7 separate regions of the Homo sapiens genome follow, and all the other regions are linked to region 5. Evidence: promoter capture Hi-C in 16 types of primary human blood cells and fetal thymus (Javierre and others, 2016). All regions are on one chromosome and are shown on one strand. Each heading gives the region's core, a stretch centred on a gene start or on the middle of the fragment in contact. The rest is flanking DNA. Distances are from core to core; before and after follow the strand shown. Region 1 overlaps SAMSN1 (SAM domain, SH3 domain and nuclear localization signals 1). Region 2 overlaps SAMSN1 (SAM domain, SH3 domain and nuclear localization signals 1). Region 3 overlaps SAMSN1 (SAM domain, SH3 domain and nuclear localization signals 1). Region 4 overlaps SAMSN1-AS1 (SAMSN1 antisense RNA 1). Region 5 holds the start of USP25 (ubiquitin specific peptidase 25). Region 6 has its middle 26 kb from the start of SAMSN1-AS1. Region 7 has its middle 72 kb from the start of SAMSN1.

Region 1 (3,205 bases), core at 628-3,127, 1.2 Mb after region 5:
AATTATCTAGTTATGTTCCTGTCTGTAAACACACTATCTAAGCCTTCCTATATTACTCTTGGTGCACCTCAAATGGGATATTCCTATGAGAATGTACGGGTTAGCATCTTGCCTCTGAATCTTGTTCATTGTGTGACCTGTGAGAAAACCAAGGTCTATGAGACTGAAATGACTTCCCCAAGAATGCACAGTTAAATGGTTATATGTCAGAACAGGAAATTTTGTGTTCTTTATTCTAATTCAGTGCTAAGAATATACTTTTTTAAAGAAAGAATTGTCATTCTTCTTGCTTTTCTTCCTTTTTTTTTTTTTTTTTGTTAAAAAGGGGTGGTCATAAGTTCTCCCTGATTACTTAAAACTTTTAGACTTCCTCTTATTCTATTTTAGTAATTAAAATAAGGATATTGAAATTAGAGCAAGTAAAATAGGAGGAATCTGAAGAAGTTGAAAAAGCACTCAACTTCACTTAATATTTTTATTTTGTTTGAGAGGATAGAGGTTTCAAAATAACATACAGACTTTGAAATCGGAAACCTATGAATTTTAAACTAATACATATTGATTCAAATGACGGACAAAATATACATGCTGAGAAAACAATTCTTTCCCCAACTACAGTGCTTCTATGCTTAGTAAAAGCTTCCAATTAAATAGAAAGTCTCCAATTCTTTTGGTTTACATAATGCCTTTCAATCAAAATGCTACACCCACTTTTTTGTATAGAATTACATCTGTTTCAAACTCATTTTTTAACCTACCCCAAGAATGTTTTGAGAGTAGATGCTTTTGCAATCATGAAAACAAGAAGAGATGTAGATTCTGAAATATTGCTGTAGCATGCTACTCTGCTAGAGGCATTTTATTGATAGACTTAAAGTAATGCTAGTTCTGTCAATTTAGTTAGTTGAGAAGTGAAACATTTCCAAATGGGATGCATGATCCAACTATTTAATTTATCCATGATTTGGAATTGTATAGCTTAAGGTAATTATTTCTTCTTTACATTTGGCCTTCCAAAAGGCGAGAATTATACAACATAATCATTTAAGAGCCCTGGAGTTCATATGTCAGAAACGAATACAAGTGAAGTTAAGTAAAAGTTCTATTGGCACCTTTGGTCCCCATGTGCATCTCTATACTTTCTTTAAATCTAAAGAGAACTAAAAATAAAATATTTGAATCTGACTAATTTGCTTTATATTTTTTGTCTTACAGGAATACACCTCAACACTTTTGCTCAATGGTTATGAGACTCTAGAAGATTTAAAAGATATAAAAGAGAGTCACCTCATTGAATTAAATATTGAAAACCCAGATGACAGAAGAAGGTTACTATCAGCTGCTGAAAACTTCCTTGAAGAAGAAAGTAAGTGTGTACACCTACTCTTCTCCCCAGCTGATAATCAGTTTAATGTAAATAGTATAATCATTAGAAACAAAGCCCCAGTTTTATTTACTGAGATCATGAAAGCACGCTTTCCCATAAAATAGGTATTTTCATATAAGTTTGAAAACAATAACTCTGGTCAAATATGTAATTAGGAAAAGGAACTTATTTCCTTATTGGACTCAGGAAATGAAAGGACTTTTCTGGGTACCTCATTTCCACTCTGCAAAGCTATTAATTTACATGCAAGTGGATGCCTGCATTCCCAAAGACTGAGGGAGTTAGAGACAAGTATTTAGTAACAGCATAAGCCATTAGTGCGAAATGTCACACATGGCTTCTGTAGAACAACACGAGGCTTTAAGATAATGAGCCTTCATGGCACACAGGAAAACTCATTTTATGACCACATAGTCACATCTTGTACATGTTTATAGTACTCTTTCAAAATGTTATAATAGCTTGCAAAAATATTCAGCACTCACTTTTATTATCTGAGATGGTTCTCTGTATTTGTAAGTATTAACTGAAGATGAAATAATCTTGGAGATTTACAGAATATTGTCTACAGCAACCAGGCTTGTAAAGATAGGATAGCTTTTATTTTTTATAATTATCCATCCAGACTGCCTTTCCTGCCAAATCCGGTCAGGCCCCCAAACACTGACGTTAGGGTTTGCCAAACTCTGCAAGGAGTATTTTGTGAGCAACCAAAAGGGGAAAGTCTAACTTTAAAGATAAAAAGGAACTTAGATAATCAAATCCAGCCTTCTCTATCAAAAAATACTACTACTAATAATAATTACTAGTATTAATATTATTAGTTTTTGAGATGGTGTCTAAATCTGCTGTCCCGGGTGGAGCGCAGCGGTGCGATCTCGGCTCACCGCGACCTCCGCCTCCCAGGTTGAAGCGATTCTCATGCCTCAGCCTCCGAGTAGCTGAGATTATAGGCATGCCACCACACCCGGCTAATTTTTGTATTTTTAGTAGAGATGGGGTTTCACCATATTGGCCAGCCTGGTCTCGAACTCCTGATCTTAAGTGATCCGCCCATCTTGGCCTCTCAAAGTGCTGGGATTACAAGCGTGAGCCACCGCACCCAGCAGTAAAAATAATACTAGTAATTATTAACTACATTTTTAAAACATATGTGCTCTGAGCAAGACTCTGGGCCAGGGTCTTTCCTGATTATTCTCTTGAGTACTTACCCCAGTTCTTTGAGTTAGACACTACCGCCCTCATTTTTATGATGAGTTAAGACAGCAAGTAACTTGTCTAAGAACACTCCCTTAGTGAAGTGTAGAGTTAGGATTCCAACCCAATGTATGTGCTGCTGTGTTATACTTTCTAACACTACAAGTAACAGCCCAGATGGAGAGTGAGGAGGGAGGAAAGCGTTATTTAGGGACCAGGCCTCCTGATTGTCCTTTTGTGGGCTATTCTATACTCTCTCTCATAAGTCCCACAAAACTGAGGTAGAGCACACGTTTCCTATACACTGGCTTTTTATCTAGTGAAAAGTAGTTTACTTTTTAAGAAACTGGTTTTTACTTTATTCTTATCATCCTTTTCCAAGAGCTTTCACAGGCATAACTAATTTGACATCAGCAGAACTGATTTCATCATCAGGCCTAGGTTATTATATGCTTTCTTTGAAGTTGTGAGGCTGGGAGATGCAAAAGAGAGGGAGATGTGGTCACAGAGGCAGACAAAGTTCAAGCTTCAGAAAGTAGCCAATCTAATCAATATTTCAAGTCAAGACAAAATTGATCAGTGTAAACAGATATAGTAAGTTCGTTCAGGTAAAGGAGTCAG
Region 2 (3,116 bases), core at 55-2,554, 1.2 Mb after region 5:
GGGAGGCTGAAGTGGGAGGATTGCTTGACAGGAGTTCAAGACCAGCCTGGGCAACATAGTGAGACTTTGTCTCTACAAAAAATAAAAAAAATAAAAGTTAGCTGAGCATGGTGGTGCACATGTGTAGTCCCAGCTACTCAAGAAGCTGAAGCAGGAGATTGCTGGAGCCTAGGAGTTCAAGGTTACAGTGAGCTATGATCACATCACCGCACTCCAGTCTTGGCAACCCTGGAGCAAGAGACCCTGTCTCAATAAATAAATAAATAAATAAATAATAAAAGTAATAAAATATTAAATATGTACATTTTGTAATACTTATGATTATAGTTTCTTTATATTGTAAGTTATTACATAGCAATCATCTTTTATCTTTTGTTTGATTTGTATGTTAGGACATCTAAAAATTTCAAATTACTTTAAGATTATGACTATCTCACTGTATTTAATTATCAATTATGAAAAAGTCATTACCAATAAAACAAATGTTTATAACTTTAAAAATACAGTTCCTTCAAAGATAAATGTTCTACAATTATTGAACATTACATTATAGGTCAAGGAGTGATTATAAACTGAGTTTCTTTTTACCACTACTCTTATATTTCAACTCTGCTATTAACCCCCTCAGGAGATTGAAGTATTCATCTAACCAAATCCCAGTTTTCTAAAAGGTAAATAAATGTAATTGACAATAAAAATAGTTATAGGACACTAACATCTCTTCCAAACTTCCTAACATGAACTTACTGTTTTATTTTCCCACCCATTCTTCCTCTATTTGGGATGACATACCATATATTTGCCCCCACATAAACATGTCTGTTCTTACTAAGAAAAAAAGTGTTTAAATTCCTAAGACCAGCAGCAGTGGGTGCTTCCTGGGATGGGAATGTTTATAAGCTTTATGATATTAACTGCAGCACTCAACCTCAGGTGGCATAAAGCATGCAAAAAAGAACTTTCTGTCAGTTTTATTATTTCTAAAAAGGTTCCCCTTGAAACAGAAGAGTGACCTTGCTCTGCTGAGCTGACATATGCCACTGGATTAATGGTCGAGCTCTGCTGGAGGGAAGCTCACGGAAACATTACAACTCCAGAAGCTGGGCTGGCGGTGACCATTAATCAGGGGGCCCAAAATCATGCATCAGACACACTCATTTAAAAGTAGTAAAAATGACTCAAAAAAAAACTTTTTGAGAATTAGCTTATTGTTTGTCATTACTTGTGTTCAAGGAGATCACAGAATGACTAAAATATCCCTTGGGCAGACCTTTAGAAAGGTTACTGTGTACCCAGAGGCCAAGTGAATGCAGAGGACTTTTAAGACTAATGGAAGTAAAAGGGAGTTTTTGTTCCAGATAATTTGATAGGAAATTTGGTTAAAAGGATTTTGTTTTCCCAACTTAATTTTTACATCTTTATTTAACCATAATTTCAAAGTAATGAGTACTATAAATGTTTGCCTCTTGGTGATAATTTTATTTTATTTTAAAATCTGGAGTGACTGGAATTTACTAGTGTAAAGATGAGATGGGTAAACTGTTAGGAAATATTTCAGGAAACTAAAGTTTTGTTAGCATACTCAATTATCACGTATGTTTAAAAGTTTTGGGGCTTAAAAGTACTGCACATTCTTCCATCATGTTAGATAATAAAAAATTTTTGAGATTTCCTCTCTCTGATTATTGAAAAGAAAAAAAAAAGCTTACATCTAAGATCCTGAAAGAAATTGCTCAATTTAACTTAGCTAATAATGTTACTCTTGGGTTTTCTTTTTTAACTCCTTTGATGATAAAATTGAATAGACATAATTTCTCTTTTATACTTTTAATAGTTTGTCTTTTAGATTAATGACACTATACAAAATACATATGATAAATCTTATTAACAGTACAACAAATAGAAAAATCAGTCACTTATTACAAAAACCAGAATAAATTTGGTATTTAAGTTTATGGTTAATGTAGTAAGGTCTATTGAGATCAATATTCGAAGTTATTCTTCTCTTAACTAATAGTTGCTTTTTTAAACCATCATCTTCAATATTACCTTTTGTCTATTTGCCATATCCTATACAGCAGTATTATTTAGGCAGAATTATTTATTTGTAGAATTATTTGTTTTTGTTTAGTTATAGAATTAAAATAGTTGAAAATGATGTGACTAGTTAAAATATTATTTAATATTCTATAATAAATAGAAAAATAAAATATGCATAGAAAAGACAGTTAATTTCCAAACTTATGGAAGAATAATGTATATTTTTTGTAAATTGAAAATTTCAGTCATCCATCTTTTGAATTGCCCTCCCTGTATCAAGGTACCTAGATAACAAAATTAGTAATGCAAAATTTGCTCAGGGAAATAATTTGAGTAGAGGTGGCAAATGCAGTTCCTCTCTTCTTCCCCTAAACACCCACTATCTTCTGTAACCACTGTGGACACAGTTAATCATGACTTTTTAACTCTGAAAATGGCTTTAGAACGCTTCTCAACACAGCTCTTCATGAAACATCGACCAACTATCCATGCTGGTGCATGAGTTGAAAACTTTTTGTCAGTTTTAGTTTCAAGAGATAGTTCATCCAGACAATGAAAAATCCCAGTGAAATATCCCTATAACAAATAAAAAATATTTTTATAGTGACCTAAATGATTATGTTTACTAGAGACAGTATTTATTTCTCTCCTATGAAAGTTTGGGAGAGAATTATATTAGATACTAGACACATTTTTTATCATCCAGTGATCCATCTTATACATAGCATATGTTCCACTACCTTTCTTACTTATCATAACTTTAGCAATCACAATCTTCGGATTTGGTGATTATTTCTTTCTTTTTTTTTTTTTTTTTTTTGAGACGGAGTCTCGCTCTGTTGCCCAGGCTGGAGCGCATTGGCTCAATCTCGGCTCACTGCAAGCTCCGCCTCCCAGGTTCACGCCATTCTCCTGCCTCAGCCTCCCAAGTAGCTGGGACTACAGGCACCCGCCACCACGCCCGGCTAATTTTTTTGTATTTTTAGTAGGGATGGGGTTTCACCGTATTAGCCAGGGTGGTCTGGATCTCCTGACCTCGTGATCCGCCTGCCTTGGCCTCCCAAAGTGCTGGGATT
Region 3 (3,128 bases), core at 113-2,612, 1.2 Mb after region 5:
CTGCACAGAATGCATGCAAAATCCACAAACTCAGAATGTTCTCTGTAACAGTGATTTCAGATCAATGTTTTTTATTGCTTTATTATTTTGTCTTTTGTAAACAATTCTAAACTAGGCACATGAAGGAGATCCCACAAATGGAAGTGGAGAACAAAGTAAAACTTCAAATAATGGAGGCGGTTTGGGTAAAAAAATGAGAGCTATTTCATGGACAATGAAGAAAAAAGTGGGTAAAAAGTACATCAAAGCCCTTTCTGAGGAAAAGGTAAATATTCTCTGATAATCATTTGTATTTTTCTACTAAAACTTTCTTAAACTATTCAGCTAGACTATAGAAGTGCTTGGTACTTTATGAAGTACTTAAGCATTTGTTTTCTTCCTCAGTCATTATGCCCAGAACTTGGGTGGAAGGAAGTATTACTTTCATTTTAACAGAAGAAACTGACACTCAGAAAGATCATGCATCTGCTGGGTGCAGTGGCTCACACCTGTAATCCGAGCACTTTGGAGGCCGTGGCGGGAAGATCACCTGAAGTCAGGAGTTCAAGACCAGCCTGGCCAACATGGTGAAACCCCGTCTCTACTAAAAATACAAAAATTAGCTGAGCATGGTGGTGCACGCCTGTAGTCCTAGCTACTCAGGAGGCTGAGGAAGGAGAATCGCTTGAACCCGGGAGGCGGGGGTTCCAGTGAGCCCTGATTGCACCACTGAACTTCAGCCTGGCAACAGAGCAAGATGGCGTCTCAAAAAACAAAACAAAAAAAAAGATCATGCATCTAGAATGTGATGCGAAGAACAATGTGAAGAACAACATGTCATTAATTTAGTAGCAAGTATCAGTACTTCATTCCTTTTTATTGCCAAATAATATTTCTCCTTTTATAGATGGATCACATTTACTTTATCCATTTATCACTTAGTGATTACTTGGGTTGCTTTCACTTTTTGGCTATTATGAATAATGCTGCTACAGATACTTCTGTTCAATTTTTGTGTGGAAATATTTTTTCATTTCTCTTGGATATATAGTAACTCCATGTCTAATAGAGAAACTGGCAAATTGTTTTTTTAAGCAGGTGTGTCATTTGACATTCCCATCAACAATGTATGAGGGTTCCAATTTCTCTGCATCATTGCCAACACTTGTTATTGTCTGTCTTTTTAATACTAGCCATCCTAGTGGATGTGAGGTGGAATCTCATTGTGATTTTGATTTACATTTGGTTGTACTTTACGTTTCCCTGATGACTAATAATGTCAAGAATCTTTTCATGTGCTTTTTAGCCATTTATCTATCTTTGTGGAGAAGTGTTTTTCAAATCCATTGTTCGTTTTTAATTGGGTTATTTATCTTCTTATTGTTGAGTTTTAAATGTTTTTTATATATTCTGGATGCAAGTTTTTTATCAGATATATGACATGCAATATAATATATTTTCTCCAATTCTGTGGATTGTATTTTTATTTTCTTGATGGTGTTGTTTGTAGCACAAATGTTCCTAATTTTATTGTAGTCCAATTATCTTTTTTTGGTCACTTGTGCTTTTGGTAACATATTTAACAAACCATTGTCTAATCTAATGTAATGAAGATTTATTCCCATGTTTTCTTCTAAGAGGCCAATAGTCTCTTAAATTTTGGTGTATCATTTATTTCAAGATAATTTTACTGTACAGTATATAGGAAGAGTCCACCTTCATTCTTTTGCATGTAGATATATAGTTGTCCTTACACTATTTGTTGAAAAGACTATTCTTTTCCTATTTGATTGTCTCGGTACTCTTGTTAAAAATCAATTGACCATAAATATATTGTCATAAATATATGGATCATAAATAAGTGAGTTTACTTATGGACTCCCAATTCTACTTTATTGATTTTTATGTCTTATGTCCATTCTCTTTTTCAATCCACTTCAACAGGGCTCTGTCTCCAGTACTCCATTAAAATAGCTGTCGCCGTCAGTAGTGACCTCTGTGTTGCCAGGTCCAATGGTCACTTTTCTTTCTCCTTACTACTTTTCAACTGTATTTGACCCAAGTGCTGATTTCCTTACATATAAAACATCCACTTTTCTTGTTTTTTTTTGACTAGGCATGCTTCTGGCATTTCTTCTTCCTCATAGCTTCCTTTCTTGGCTCTGCTTTCTTTCTCATCCCTTGAAACATCTTCCTGAGGCTTGTTCCTGGATGCTCCATTGAATCTACATTCTCCCCTTAAGTCAGCTCATCTACTCTCATGATTTTGTTTTTCACAACTATATCTCTAGCTATGACCTCTTCACTTATCTGCTATATTAATACAATCAATTGCTTATTTGATATCTTCATTTAGATGTCCAGTAGACATCCAAAACCTAATATATCCAAAGCTAATATATTTATTCTCTACACTTTTACAAAAAAAATGGTTTTCTCATCCAGTATTCCCAGTGGCAGCAGACAACACTGATCCCCAAAATAAATAAAAACAAAAATATAAAAAATAGGAAGAAAAGAAAATCTAAGAATCACCCTAAATTCCTTCTTTTTCTCACTTTTCACACTAATTCATCAGTAAATTCTCTGAATTGTATTACCACGTATATATAAACTCCCTAATTTCTCCATGTAAACTATTCCTGCTTTAGACTAAATAACCAACCTTTCTTTCCTGGATTACTATCATAATCCCCTAATTGCTTTCCATTCTTTTTATTCTTTCCCCCATAAAATTTATTCTCCATATGAAAGCCAGAAATATCTCTGACAAGTGGAAATCAGGTCATGGTTAAAATTTCAGTGTCTTCATAGTGAACCTCTTTACTTGGTGTGTTCATTCTAGATCCCAAGAAAAAGAGTAGAAACACCACAGATTTATGACAGGAAATGCTAGGAAGGCTAAAGAGAAAGCCTTTAGACTGCAACGTAAATCTGACATCTGTAAAAGGATGAGGAAAAGGAAGAAGAATCAGGTAGAGAGAGTCTCATACTTCAGCAGAATACTGAGAAAGCTTTGGTCAGATTGATGGAGGATTCTTATACTAAAGTTTTCCATTACAGGAACCCTACATTCCACTAGAATGGGCTCAAACAATACCCCTATTTTTTCAGTTACTGAAAGGGAGCATGGCTTTAGTGCAAATGGA
Region 4 (3,129 bases), core at 365-2,864, 1.1 Mb after region 5:
GTACCCTAAAACTTAAAGTGTAATAAAAAAAATTTAAAAAATAAATAAATAAATAAATAAGGTGATGGATAAAACAACAAAAAAATTGTTTTAAATACATAGTTGGATATGTGAGTCTGAAGCTCTGCAGAGAGGCCTGGGGAAAGAAATAAATTGGGAGTCATTAGCATATAAGTGATATTAAAAGTGGTATGTGTGCATGCATGCACATGAGAAGAGAATGGTGGTGATATCAGATAAAAGGCCAGGGTTAATCCTTAAGTAATTTCAAAATTTAATTTCAAGAAAAGGAAGGTGTCAGCATATAGGAGTTATAGAGGGAAGGGCCAAAAAAGGCAAAAGGAAAATCAGAGGAACATGGTGTCACAGAAGCCAAGAAAAGAGAGTGTTTCCAGAAGGTCACTGTGGTCAACATTGCTGAATATCAAATAGTAAAGGAGTTTAAGAATGGCTCATTAGATCAAAATGACAATTAAAAGGGAATGGTAGAGATGAAAGCTGATAGATGAGATAGATTAAAAGGATGAGAAGTTAATAGAATTAAAGGAAGCATACATAGTTCACATTTTTGATACAAATGCCTAGGATCAAAGAAGAATAGAAAAAGTGGTAAATAAAAGATGGTGAAGTAAAGATGAATAACATGAAGCACATTTGAATGCTATTGGGAAGAGTCCATTGAAATGGAAAATCAAAATTCAGTAGAGAGAGAAGAACAAAACTGTAAACCAAGTTGTATCACCCTCTGATTAGATATTCCATATTCTTCAACCTGCTCTACAGAAGCTTCCTGGAAGGATCTCTGTTATTCTCTGGGCTCATCTCTTGGTACTCTTCCTTTCTTTCCCTTCATGGGCACATACTAAGCATTCTTCCAGAAATTCCAGCTTTAGAACCTTTGCAAACTGTATTGTGTTCCAAGACTTCTCTTCTCTCTGCTACTTGCCTGGCTGACTTTTTCTCCAATGCAAGTCTCAGGTGAAATATTCTTTCTGACCATCTGCTGAATTCTAAACCCTCTCTAAATCTTCACATATCTGGTTCCTTCTCATCATTCAGGCCTCAGCTTTAGTATCTTCAGTGAAGCTCCTCCTGATCAGTATATTAATAAACCCTCTTTTTGCATCCTCACTAATCACCCTGTTAATTATTAATACAGCATTTCTTATGTCACATTCTTATGTTTATATACTTGTTTATATGTTTATCGCCTGTCACCTCCCTCTAGAATTAGACTTGATAAAAACTGTGATCTCATATTACTTCCTCTATGCCATATCCCCAGAATGTGAGATAGTGCTTGGCATTTACTAGGTGCTCAAATAAAAGTTTATTGATTTGTTGAATGCTAGGTTTAATTTATGGGTTAATCTTCTTAGAACACATTTAAAATTTAAAAGGTATGTTACTATAAAACTTAATCAATCACATTCAGTACAAATATGTAGGTAATGGATAAGAGAATTGAGATAAATAGGGTTATTATTTGAAAAATATTTGAGGATTTTTCTTTTTTTTTCTTTTTCTTTTTTTTTTTTTTTTGAGATGGAGTCTCGTTCTGTCACCCAGGCTGGAGTTCAGTGGTGCGATCTCGGCTCACTGCAATCTCTGCCTCCCGGGTTCAAGCAATTCTCCTGCCTCAGCCTCCCAAGTAGCTGGGATCACAGGTGCATGCCACCACACCCAGCTGATTTTTGTATTTTTAGTAGAAACAGGGTTTCACCATGTTGGCCAGGATGGTCTCCATCTCCTGACCTCATGATCCGCCCACCTCAGCCTCCCAAAGTGCTGGGATTACAGGCATGAGCTGCTGCACCTGGCTGTATTTTTAATCTGAATACATTTTCTTTTTAATACATAGTTGTAATGATTCTATACCTTTTATAATAATATTAACTCTAAATTTCATCCCTTGGATATATAGTACCTATTAACAAGAGGAGGTTGTCCAGAAATAATTTGCTACTAGAAAGTAATGAGTCTAGTATCAAACATGTACTATGGATACTCCATTTTGTATATAAAACATGTATAAAATTAGGATTGTATTTACATTCAGTACATATTTATTAAGCCATGTACAATCCTAGGCACATAGGATTTTTAAAAATAAATAAAATGCAGTAGACTGATGTCCAGTAACTCAAAGTGAATAAAGATACAAAAATTAACAATATCATGCTTTAAAAAGGCTACAATAGAATGTGAACAAAATAATGAAAGGTCAGTTTGTTTTAAAACCTCTAGGACATGAGATCTTACTTACCTGAATTCAGATACCTTCCAAATGCTTTAGTTCCTCTTGGGGGAAAATCATTTATACAAAGTTCCATTTCCCTGGTATATAATACCTTTCTCCACATTAAGTGAAAGCCTTTTTCACAAAGGGAGAAGAGAAGACGATTTTTGTTGCCAGTGTTTCAGTGGAGCAATTAAGCTTTGGCTGTAACAAGAAGTTGCCATAAGAATAGAAGCACAACAAAGAAAAAATGGTTGTGCAATGTCATCTTATTATTTCTGAAAGGGTCTAAAGAGTAGAAAATGGCCTTTCCTGAGTTGTAAAGGGTCTATAAAATCAAGTAACTCAGAAAGCACTAAAAGAAACACTGAGAAATAATACAAAAAAATAAACAGCAATAGAAATTGTGTTGAGCAGAGCATGGCCTTTGGAAAGAGAGGGAAGATTTTGTGCTTCTAAGCATATCTCATCACAGTCCTTTCTGAAAGATTAAAATGATTTCAATATTTTCCCACTTATTTAATGCAAAAAGGTAGGGTTCCTCTGACAAAAACGTCACATTTCCTACGTAAGTGCTATTTTGCAGAGACAGATCAACAAGTTTATACTGGTTGTGCAAAGTCATTCTTAAAGAACAAAGATAACAGCTGAGTATAAAGATTGGAAATGTTGCATGTCAGATATCCTTTACTTCCAAACATTTATTTGGGCTTATAGTCTCCTTAAAAGGATTGGAAAGCATTATTATAAATATGTCTCATTCAAACATTAATGAGGAAGCAAATATTCACCTCTTGAAAACTGCAGTGTCTTTGTAGATGCTATTTATCAGCTGTTCAATGGAAAGAATGAGACAAAAGCAGGTGGAGAAATATTTCTGAGTCTAGAAC
Region 5 (2,992 bases), core at 46-2,545:
CCAACTACTCTTCAGAACATGGTGCAAGCCATGATAGTGCACTTAAGATTCTGAAAGCAAAATCTAAAATAGCAGAATGATCTCTATTCACTTTAAAGATATAAAGTTTCACAAACAGTTTTTTAATTGTTTTCTTTAGTGAGTGACCATTTGAATGTGTGACTGATGCAAGAGTAAAGGGTGAACGAAAGAACAAGGTCAAACTTAGGGGACAAAAGATTCCTGGAATAACATGGCCAGAAAGGTTTCCTCTCTTAGGGACAGTTTCTATATTGAAAAAAAAAAAAAAAAAAAAAAAAACAGAAAAGAAGAAGAAGAAAGGGAAACCTTAAAAGGAAAAGAAACCAAGCAAACCACCTACTTCTAGAGTCCACCTGGTCAACACGCCTGCCCCGCGAGGCAGGTAATTCGATTTTGGTGGAGACCGTTTTGCAAAATAGCAGGCCTGGTACACTACTACCTTTGAAAGACAAAATCGGTTCAGAAAGGATGACAACTAGCTATTCTTTCTCATTTAAGGGGAGAGAATAAAGTTTCATTAAGATGCCACACAGAGCACTGTAGGAATGTGAGGGTCGCTCTCAATACCTGGCACCGTCTGCTACGGGAAAACAATCGGCAGAAGGAAGTGGATTGAAGCCCGCAAACTACACTCTGCTTCCCACACGCAGCTGGGCTCTGGGCGCGACGCCCCCGAGGCGATGGGCAGGGGCCGGGGGTGACCGGGGAGGAAGCCCGGGAAGGCGGCGGCGGCGAGGCCGGGGCGCCCGGCCGCAGCGGGAGAGGACAGCCCGTCGGAAGGAGAAGTGGGGCCCGCCGGCTGGCGGACTCGCCTCACCTTCTGCGCCGCGCTCTGCTGCAGCACGTTCTGCTCCACGGTCATGGCCCCCGCGGCGGCGGCGGCGGCGGCGGCGGTGGCGCCCGGCTCCTCGCGCCTCCGCCGGCCCTGGCTGCCGCGCTCCGCCGAGCTCCAGGGAGCGGCGCGGACGGCCTGGGAGGACAGCGCCCCCGCCAGCCAGGCGCGAAGGCGATGGCGGCCGGCGTGCGCGGGCACCGCGGGCAGGCGGCGAAACGCCGACTGTGAGGGCCACGGCGGCCGCCTCACGTCTCCACGCGGCCCGCCTCAGCGCCGCTCGTCCGCGGCGGCCCGGGCCATGAGCGGGCGGAGGACGCCGGGGCACGGGAGAGCGCGAGCCAGTCGGGCGGCGTCACGCGTTCGCACGTTCCTTTGCTGCCGGTCCGCGGGCTGCTTTGGGGAAGGGAGAGAGGGGACGGAGGGAGCGGCCGCCCGGAATGGCGTTGTCCTCCTCCCTCCGCGAGTCCTCCTCCCTCCCCTCCCCCACGCGCCATCCCCGCCCCCGCCCGGCGGCTCCTCCCCCGCAGAGCCCCGCCCGCCGGCCGCCCTAACCCTACATTGTGACCCTCCGGGCGGCGGGGCGGGGCCGCCATGGAGCCCCGCCCCTCCCTGCGCGGGCCTGGCGTTCCCGGGTGGGGCGAGGGCGCGCCTGGCTGCCTGGCCCGGGAGCCGCCCCTGCGGCAGGTTGCGCGACGCTGGCGCTGGGCTTCGGGGAGCGCGACTGGAGGCCGGAGGGCAGCGTTCCTCCCTGCGCCCAGGGCTTGTCGGATCCCTAGCTTACCCAAAGCCTCCAAAGCAAACATTTCCCTCCATGCCCATAACGTCCCAAAACTGCGTAGGGTCCCGAACTCCGGCCCCTTTCTGTGTCACGCGTTCTCTCCCCTCGCCTTTCTAGGAATTTCACAAGCCTTGAACTTGCCTGAAGGGAAAAGTCAAATAAGCAAAGGGTTGCCAGAAATCTTTATGCTGGGAAGTACTTTTCTCCTTAACTAATCATTACGTAAATGAATATAGACATTTTCTATCTACCTTCATTCATTCGAATATGTGTCAGTCACTGCTAGGCTCTGGAAAAATAAAGTTTATCTTCCCAAGACTTAATATAAATGAAATAGGATCTATCTAGCAAACAACCTTACAAAAATATCACTGCCTAATGATACATAATTCTAATATCCCAGTTGCCAAATTAAGCAAACAATTAACTACCATGCATGGAATGCTTGACTATATATGGAATTGTAAGGAAAATCTAACATTAAGAAAGCAATCTCTAGCCACAAAAATATCTCGAGTTCCAGGAGCTAATCTGGGAACGGAGGTGAGAGTGCAGCAGTGTGAGGAGAGAAATTATCAATGCATATTGTCACAAATAGAATACACTTGAAAATCCGGGTATAATTTTTAATCCAATGACAAGGAAAGCAAGCTTGGCAAATGCTAATTGAAATAGTATGTGGTGTTATTTAATAATCATGGATTATAGTAGCTCTTAAGGCTTTGTAACAGTTCTGTGCACTTTACAACCATCTTTGTTCTGCAGCTCAGATGTCTGGTACCACCTGTTGTCACCTTTTCCTTGAAGCTTCATATTTGTTGACTCATTTGATATTTAACAAATTGCAAATCTTATTATATTAATATCCTATGTCTTTTCTAGAGGAAATGAAAAGTCATGAAACGGTTGGAAACAGAAATTTAGAAATACTGTCACATCTCTAATCTCACGTATCGATTTTTTTATAACTCTGAAGCCCAAGGAGGGTGACCTGTCAAAGAGAGCTTATCAAAACCCATTTTTCTTCATTTATAGATCAAAGTTTCTTCTTTTCTTGTTTATATGCTAACTTCATGTTTCTCCATATGAGGGTTTTGGTTTTTTGGTTTGTTTGTTTGTTTTTTAGAAATCAAGCTCATACATTTGAATTCAAGAAAATTAAATTTAACATAAAAATCTAGTAATCTAGTACCATGGGAGGAAAAATGTTGCCAGATACTAAGGTTTAATTTCAAGAATTTGGCAATACAACTTTTCTCTGAGTTAAATTTGTTACTTCCATACAGAAAAAAAAAGATGATCTTACAATAGATAATCATCAAATAGAGCTTTTATATGGTAGACCTATTTGCCCACTG
Region 6 (3,082 bases), core at 47-2,546, 1.1 Mb after region 5:
AAGAGAAATATGGCTCCATCATGCCCGGCCCACAGGCAGCCAGACTTTAAGGTTATCTCCCTTGTTCCCAGAAAATTGCTGTTATCCTGTTCTTAAGGTGCCCAGATTTGATATTGTTCAAACACACATGCTCTACAAACAATTTGTGCAGTTAACACAATCATCACAGGGTTCTGAGGCGACATACATCCTCACCTTATGAAGATGACAGGATTAAGAGATTAAAGTAAAGACAGGCATAGGAAATCACAAGAATATTGATTGGGGAAGTGATAAGTGTCTATGAAATCTTCACAATTTATGTTCAGAGATTGCAGTAAAGACAGGCCAGGTGTAAGAAATTATAAAAGTATTAATTTGGGGAACTAATAAATGTCCATGAAATCTTCACAATTTATGTTCTTCTGCCATGGCTTCAGCCGGTCCCTCCGTTCGGGGTCCCTGACTTCCTGCATCACCTAGAACTAGAGCTCTCTTAAGATACCACTTACCAAGTTGCAAATCCTGTGCTGAACTTGTTTTGATTTCAAATGTCTTATACTTACTGGACAAATGTTACTATGAATTCTGCTAACCAATTATCTGCTTCACTTTAGAAGGAAAAACTGTGAATGACAAAATCTGGCAGGAACACAGCAAGCATAAGAATGATTCCCACATCAGAAGGCCCTGTCAGCTAAAAGGTAATTGCTAAATTTAGTTCAGCTGACTTTGCATTTTCCCAAAGTAGTTTAAAGGGCAGGTAAGAAAAATTCACATCTTCCACCATGAAAATAAGCAGACCATTATGGTCTACTTAAAAAGGAAAACCAAATAAGATAGAATAGAATATGCATTATTATAAACTATTAATATATACATGTATACATATATATATGTGTATATATATCACATAGACACATGTACAGAAAGGAAGTGGAATCTGGTTAAGTTGCCTGCTGAAGCAAATAAGCAATTGAAAAGAAAACTGAAAGTTTTAATGTACAAAAAATTTGAAAATATATTAAAAATTAGAGCACGAGAAAACTCTCTAAAGATAACATTGATATGTTAATAGTTATGTTTAAGTCTTCTTAAAAAATTTAAGAGAAATAACCTTGATTATGAATATAAAATGGAGTCATTTTATAATGTAAAAATTTCCAGGAGAGCAAATTAGGAGTCAGGTATAGAATAACATATTAATAGTATGTAATTTCATAATTAAAAGTACTTAACTTTGGGAAGGCAAGTAATAAAACAGAAAGTCTTAAGAGTTTACAAAGATGAAAAACCGTATCAAAAGTTGATCTGCTTGGTATTCACCCCCAAGTGTTATTGGAATGAGAAAAAAATTGATTATTTTAGCTATTGATGATTCAAGAGTCTAGAAATTTCACCTGGGAGTGAAGAATGGATTGGGAACCTTAGGAGTTTGCCTAGTGCCCTATTCTACTGTGGCTGCAAGACAAAGTCCTTTCACTCTCCTGTGTCCTCTCCTTATGCAGAAGGAAGGAGTCTCTCCCGAGGCTGCAAGCTGTGCTGCCTGGGATTGGGAAAGGGGTGATGAAAGCATCCCTTTGGCCACTCCTGCTGATATCTTACTAGATCATGTGCACCTCAGTTCCACTGGCTTTGAGCCCAGCACAGCACCAGGAATTGCCCAGGAATTTCAGGCCCTGTTGTCTGGACTGCCTTTCAAGTTTACTTAGGACCCCAAAGTGCTTCAGCCCACTGTGGAGGGGCTAGTCAGAATGTGGGGGCAAGTCTATATGCTCCCCCTGTAGTGGACAGCTGAATTTTGCCCTGTGTTGCTTTCCACTGTGAGAAACAGCACTGAGGTCAATGCAAAGTCCCACAATAACTTTGCTCTCCCTTCCCCAAGCACAAATATTCTCTCTCAGCACCATGAGGATGCTACCAGGAGATAGAGGAGGAGGGTGGAGTCAGCAATCCAAAACCACCTTTCCTACTTTTTTTAGTGGCTCTTTCAAGGATATGATGTTAGAACCAGGTATTGTGATCACTCACCTCATTTTTAGTTACTTATGGAGGTGCTCTCTTGTGTGAATAGCCATTCAAGTTGGTATTCCTGTGAGAGGGATGATTACTGAGGGTTCTATTCAGCCACTTTGCTCCACTTCCCTCTCTATCATGTTTGGATTGGACTCTGTCTTTACCACATGGATGCCAGCTATATGCATCCACACCTTCAGTCAGTTAATCAAACATTTGTCTATCAGTTTCTCTATTCATCCGCCATTCCATTTATCTATTAATCCTTCTATAAGCACATGTTGTATTTTAGATTATTGTATGTTGATCTATGGATAAAGAAGGTATAATGGTGTTACAGATTATTTTAGATGTAAATTTTTCCATAAATTTCTTCAAGCATTCTATTTCCTAAAACTACCTTTCTCTTATGTATGTTTTTGTTTTGTTTTGTTAATTTGGGAATAATAGGCACGGAATTCTATTATAGCTACACTGAAAAAGCAGCAAAGAATCCTGACCTTAGATGAGTTACTTCTGGTTGCTTTGTCAGAGAAGGAAGAAAGAAAGGCTTTACAGAATTTTTCCCAGCTTTGATATTTCTCAGGGTCTTGAGTGACCATGCATGTTCAGCGAGTGCGTGTGCATGTGTGTGTCCAAGAACCTCAGCAGACATTTCAGTAGTAGCAGTTGAGTCACTGGACATTTCCTAGAAATTAATGCCATGCTAGGAAGAGTTGATGGCCAGAGACCAAGGCTGTCTGTAACATTATAAATTGAAGGGAGAAATTCAAGACCACAAGTTGTAGGCTCAAATTTTATGGGTATAGTGGTTTCATTTGGAAGGCTCAGAGTATTTCTAAGTAATTAGTGACCTATGTATCAACCTAAAATATTTCTTTCTCATTTTAAACACTCCTTTTTAGCTGTTAATTGCATAACTACTTAAGAGTAGTTTCCTGTGCCTGAGGATAGGCAGTCTGTGGAGTTCAGTGAGATAAAGATAGGAAAGTACATCATTGCTGTCATCCACAACCCACATGATTTTATTAGATACTAATGAAATTGTAAAGATGGCTTCAATAAAATAGAAGAAAATATATAGGGA
Region 7 (3,225 bases), core at 693-3,192, 1.3 Mb after region 5:
GCAAAAACACTGTGATTTTGGCTTTAGTAAAAGCAGAAGGTTCTTTGAAGACCTGTAAATCTACACTTTGCTACTTCCTGAAAGAAAAGTGATTTTTTATATCATAATTTGTTTCTCCACTCCCTCATCAACTCTTCATTGAATATGTTCTAGGTACCTGGTAAATCTGCTAAGCTTTGGGAAAAATAAGATACAGCACCTGTTCTCAAGGAATTAAGAGTTCAGTGTGGTCCTTTGGCATATGTATAAATAAATACATCCCTATGAAATGTGATATACTACAGTAGTAATGTATACAAGTGGTGTGGAAGCAGCAATCACAAATAAATTATTTCAGAACCAAATGATCTGGAAATTCAAGACTTTTGGCTACTTTGCTTACCAGCATCAGCAATCAAGTCCTGTATATATGAGCTTGAGAATAATTAAATTATTATTTAATTTATATTAATAAATTTATAATAATAAATAAATTAAATTATTTAATTAATAATTAAATGCCTAGGCATTTGCAATAGGAGAAGAATTTAACAATACATTGGAAATGTTTTGTATTCCTTATTCTTGTGGCCAGATATTTAGGACATTCATAGTGAAAATTATATTCAAGGTTAGAGTAGACAAGATTCAATATCTTCAGATTCTGGATTATAGAATTAATAAATTATAGTCATTTTTCTCCTGGCTTCAAAAGCAACTACTTGTACAGTAAAGGTTACTTAATTAAAATTTATCCAACTGAAACACCCATTTCTCTGAAACAAATGTTTGTGCAATTGACATCAACCAACTCTTCACATGAGTAGGTAAGAATAAACAGTGGAATGATGCCCAATGAATATCAATTAAAACAAATTGCTCCTAATAAACTTTGCACAGGCCCATGTTCACATGCACCTGTGTGAGCCCACACCCCCACCCTTGGAACTTTATTATTGTAACTTGTCTTCTCTAAAAGATCAATTAGCATTGACTGCATCTTAAAGACTATGTCTTCATTTTATCCTTGAAGCCTTAATTTTAATCACTGATAAGGCACAAGTTTCAGGTAGGACCAGCTATGTAATGGGAGACAGCCTGAGTGCTTAGAAAAAGGATCCAGTGCAAAATGAAAATGCACAACCTCTTGTTCAAAATGATTAAGAATTTTAAGACAGCAATACAATAGCAGAGCATTAAGCCAAATGTGGACCTTTGTGAGAGCACAGCCCTGTGCAACAACACAGGTTACATGAAGCTGGCCCTGATTTCAGATATTCCTTATCAACAGTTCCCATGTGAATTTTCCCAAAGACCATAATGCAGATGTATGGAAATGAAAACAACCTGCCTAAAAGTCACATTATGATCACATCTTCTTTACACAGGCTTATATTAACTATAAAGGCATTGTTGGGTACCCATTAAAATTCCATTTCAATCAAAACGTGGCATGCTTACTTGACTTTGCTTTTCTCCATTCTAATCAGCCTTACTCACATAACTTACGAAGCAGAGAAAATGCTATGTGTTCCCCAAACCATGTTTATTAGCCTCTTGGGTATATTCCCAGCCCTCTTGCATTCAGCTGGGTCCTTGTAATCAGTTCACGTCAATGGTAGGGCCTGACTCATAATATCTGCTTTGAGATTCATGTCCTCCTCTCATTAGGTTTTCCTTACTCTTTCTTTGGCTACCTTCATCTCTTCATCTATATGGCTGCAAGCAAGGAACACTGAAACGGGGAGCCCACCAAAGGAAGAGCTCAAATCCCTGGGTCATTTTTAGAGGAAAGCATTCGGGAATGTTGCTTGACCCCCATTTGAGTGCTACATAAAATTAAACTTTATTACATTAAGCTACTTATATTCCTCTAATACTCTAAGTTAGAGGGTATGATAATCTGAGGCAGGGGGATAGGGCCCAGAGGGGTATCAAAATTGTCAAGCAATTCTGATACACAGGAACCTTGGGCCACCTTTTGAGAAACGGCTGAAGTCATCCAATCAGCAGACTATAAAACAATGTGCTAGCCAATAGCTATCAGGTTATCTTGTGGGGATATTTATATTCTTATAATAGTATGCATTAACAATTTTGAAAGCACTCTTTCCTATGTATTTCTAGAGGATTCTGGAGCACTGTGAGGACTTCAACATTGCTAACAATGAATTATCTGGGATAGAATGACCAATAGCAACAATGATACCTGCTGAACATACCCTCAAATCTCACAAATTGTCACCTGTCTGCCTGTAGTACTTATAGAACTCAAAATCTCAAATTACCCAGGAAGAATTTGATGGAAACCCTGGAATCTGGGCTGAGTCTAATAATCTGGGAACATTGATCTTAGGAAATTCAGGGCCAGGTATTATTGGGAGGGACGAGGGGAGATGCACAGAGTGCTCAGAATAATGGCAAGTGTTATTCTCCCTTTGGCTGCAGAATGTCAGCATTTATGGGAAAAAGTCGATCAAGTACTTACTGGATCTGCTTAATCAAGCATAATCGTCGCTATGTGACTGGCAGTTATTGGAACGTCCTGTGTAAGACAGTGCCAGAACCAGTATGCAAATAACTACTTATATTATAGATAGTAAAAGGAAAAATAACTTTTTCCTCAGCACAGGAAATCAACATGATGCAATACAAGAACGTAAAGTTTGGCGTGTGAGGGATTTGGGATCATGCTTAGTTTCAACACTTATTTGCTTCAGGTTCTTAAGCATCTAAGATCCAGTTTATTCAAATGTAAAGGGGAGGTTAATGTCCACATTGCAGTGTTGTTGGGAAACTTAAACAAGTAAAGCATCTAGTATGATTTCTGCAAGATTTTACCTCTGCCCAGCTCATTATTTGTATCATATAATATTATTATTAATACTTTTAAGATTTAAGCATGAAGAAGCACTTCCATCAGGCACTTTCAAATTTGTACCATAAAGAATCCCACTAAGCATCCTTTCTGCCTTCTGTAAAACTTAGAAATTCTTTTGCCTAGTCTTTTTCAAGACACATAGTGTCAGGCATTTATCATCATCTCTTCCCCACATAGACAGACATATACTCATATTCCAAACATAGCTTCAATTGTCCAAACACTCATAAGTTGTAGGAAATAATAATTTATTAAATATTTATAAAATATTGAACTATTTTATTCACACAAGGGACTTTAATGAGAAAAATTACTTCTCATCCTCAATCTTAAAAAGAACTCTCAGGATCCTGATTTATATAGAT

Evidence for each region. Contacts are between HindIII fragments. The CHiCAGO score rates a contact against its expected background, and 5 or more counts as called.
Region 1: a fragment that was not itself captured here is called in contact with the fragment with the promoter of USP25 in region 5 in 2 of 17 cell types (non-activated CD4 T cells and neutrophils); the score reaches 6.7 in non-activated CD4 T cells.
Region 2: a fragment that was not itself captured here is called in contact with the fragment with the promoter of USP25 in region 5 in 1 of 17 cell types (total CD8 T cells); the score reaches 5.3 in total CD8 T cells.
Region 3: a fragment that was not itself captured here is called in contact with the fragment with the promoter of USP25 in region 5 in 1 of 17 cell types (neutrophils); the score reaches 6.5 in neutrophils.
Region 4: a contact is called between a fragment that was not itself captured here and the fragment with the promoter of USP25 in region 5, in 1 of 17 cell types (non-activated CD4 T cells). The highest score is 5.6, in non-activated CD4 T cells.
Region 6: a fragment that was not itself captured here is called in contact with the fragment with the promoter of USP25 in region 5 in 1 of 17 cell types (neutrophils); the score reaches 7.2 in neutrophils.
Region 7: a fragment that was not itself captured here is called in contact with the fragment with the promoter of USP25 in region 5 in 1 of 17 cell types (neutrophils); the score reaches 6.6 in neutrophils.

Annotation. Positions count from the first base shown.
Region 1 is chr21:14,496,603-14,499,807 of GRCh38, reverse strand. SAMSN1 (SAM domain, SH3 domain and nuclear localization signals 1) reads left to right here. Exons shown (of 8, transcript NM_022136.5): 7 at 1,216-1,366. The region is part of intron 1 of LOC124905053 (a long non-coding RNA gene); the gene reads right to left. Among named protein-coding and RNA genes, the nearest start is that of SAMSN1, 48 kb to the left of the region's middle. The HindIII fragment of the contact is 2,471 bases long and covers 642-3,112 here.
Region 2 is chr21:14,530,061-14,533,176 of GRCh38, reverse strand. The region is part of intron 1 of SAMSN1 (SAM domain, SH3 domain and nuclear localization signals 1); the gene reads left to right. All of the region lies in intron 1 of LOC124905053 (a long non-coding RNA gene), which reads right to left. Among named protein-coding and RNA genes, the nearest start is that of SAMSN1, 15 kb to the left of the region's middle. The HindIII fragment of the contact is 804 bases long and covers 903-1,706 here.
Region 3 is chr21:14,514,029-14,517,156 of GRCh38, reverse strand. It overlaps SAMSN1 (SAM domain, SH3 domain and nuclear localization signals 1), which reads left to right. Exons shown (of 8, transcript NM_022136.5): 3 at 116-265. All of the region lies in intron 1 of LOC124905053 (a long non-coding RNA gene), which reads right to left. Among named protein-coding and RNA genes, the nearest start is that of SAMSN1, 31 kb to the left of the region's middle. The HindIII fragment of the contact is 3,266 bases long and covers 1-2,995 here.
Region 4 is chr21:14,584,676-14,587,804 of GRCh38, reverse strand. It overlaps SAMSN1-AS1 (SAMSN1 antisense RNA 1), which reads right to left. Exons shown (of 5, transcript NR_046512.2): 2 at 2,267-2,443. It also overlaps a transcript of SAMSN1 not described here. Among named protein-coding and RNA genes, the nearest start is that of SAMSN1-AS1, 4.0 kb to the right of the region's middle. The HindIII fragment of the contact is 1,651 bases long and covers 789-2,439 here.
Region 5 is chr21:15,728,285-15,731,276 of GRCh38, reverse strand. It overlaps USP25 (ubiquitin specific peptidase 25), which reads right to left and starts at 1,295. Exons shown (of 26, transcript NM_001283041.3): 1 at 839-1,295. The coding sequence starts at 883. RefSeq lists a silencer at 731-1,690. The HindIII fragment of the contact is 4,884 bases long and covers 1-2,287 here.
Region 6 is chr21:14,607,083-14,610,164 of GRCh38, reverse strand. It overlaps a transcript of SAMSN1 not described here. Among named protein-coding and RNA genes, the nearest start is that of SAMSN1-AS1, 26 kb to the right of the region's middle. The HindIII fragment of the contact is 9,758 bases long and covers 1-3,082 here.
Region 7 is chr21:14,472,424-14,475,648 of GRCh38, reverse strand. No RefSeq gene overlaps it. Among named protein-coding and RNA genes, the nearest start is that of SAMSN1, 72 kb to the left of the region's middle. The HindIII fragment of the contact is 3,531 bases long and covers 177-3,225 here.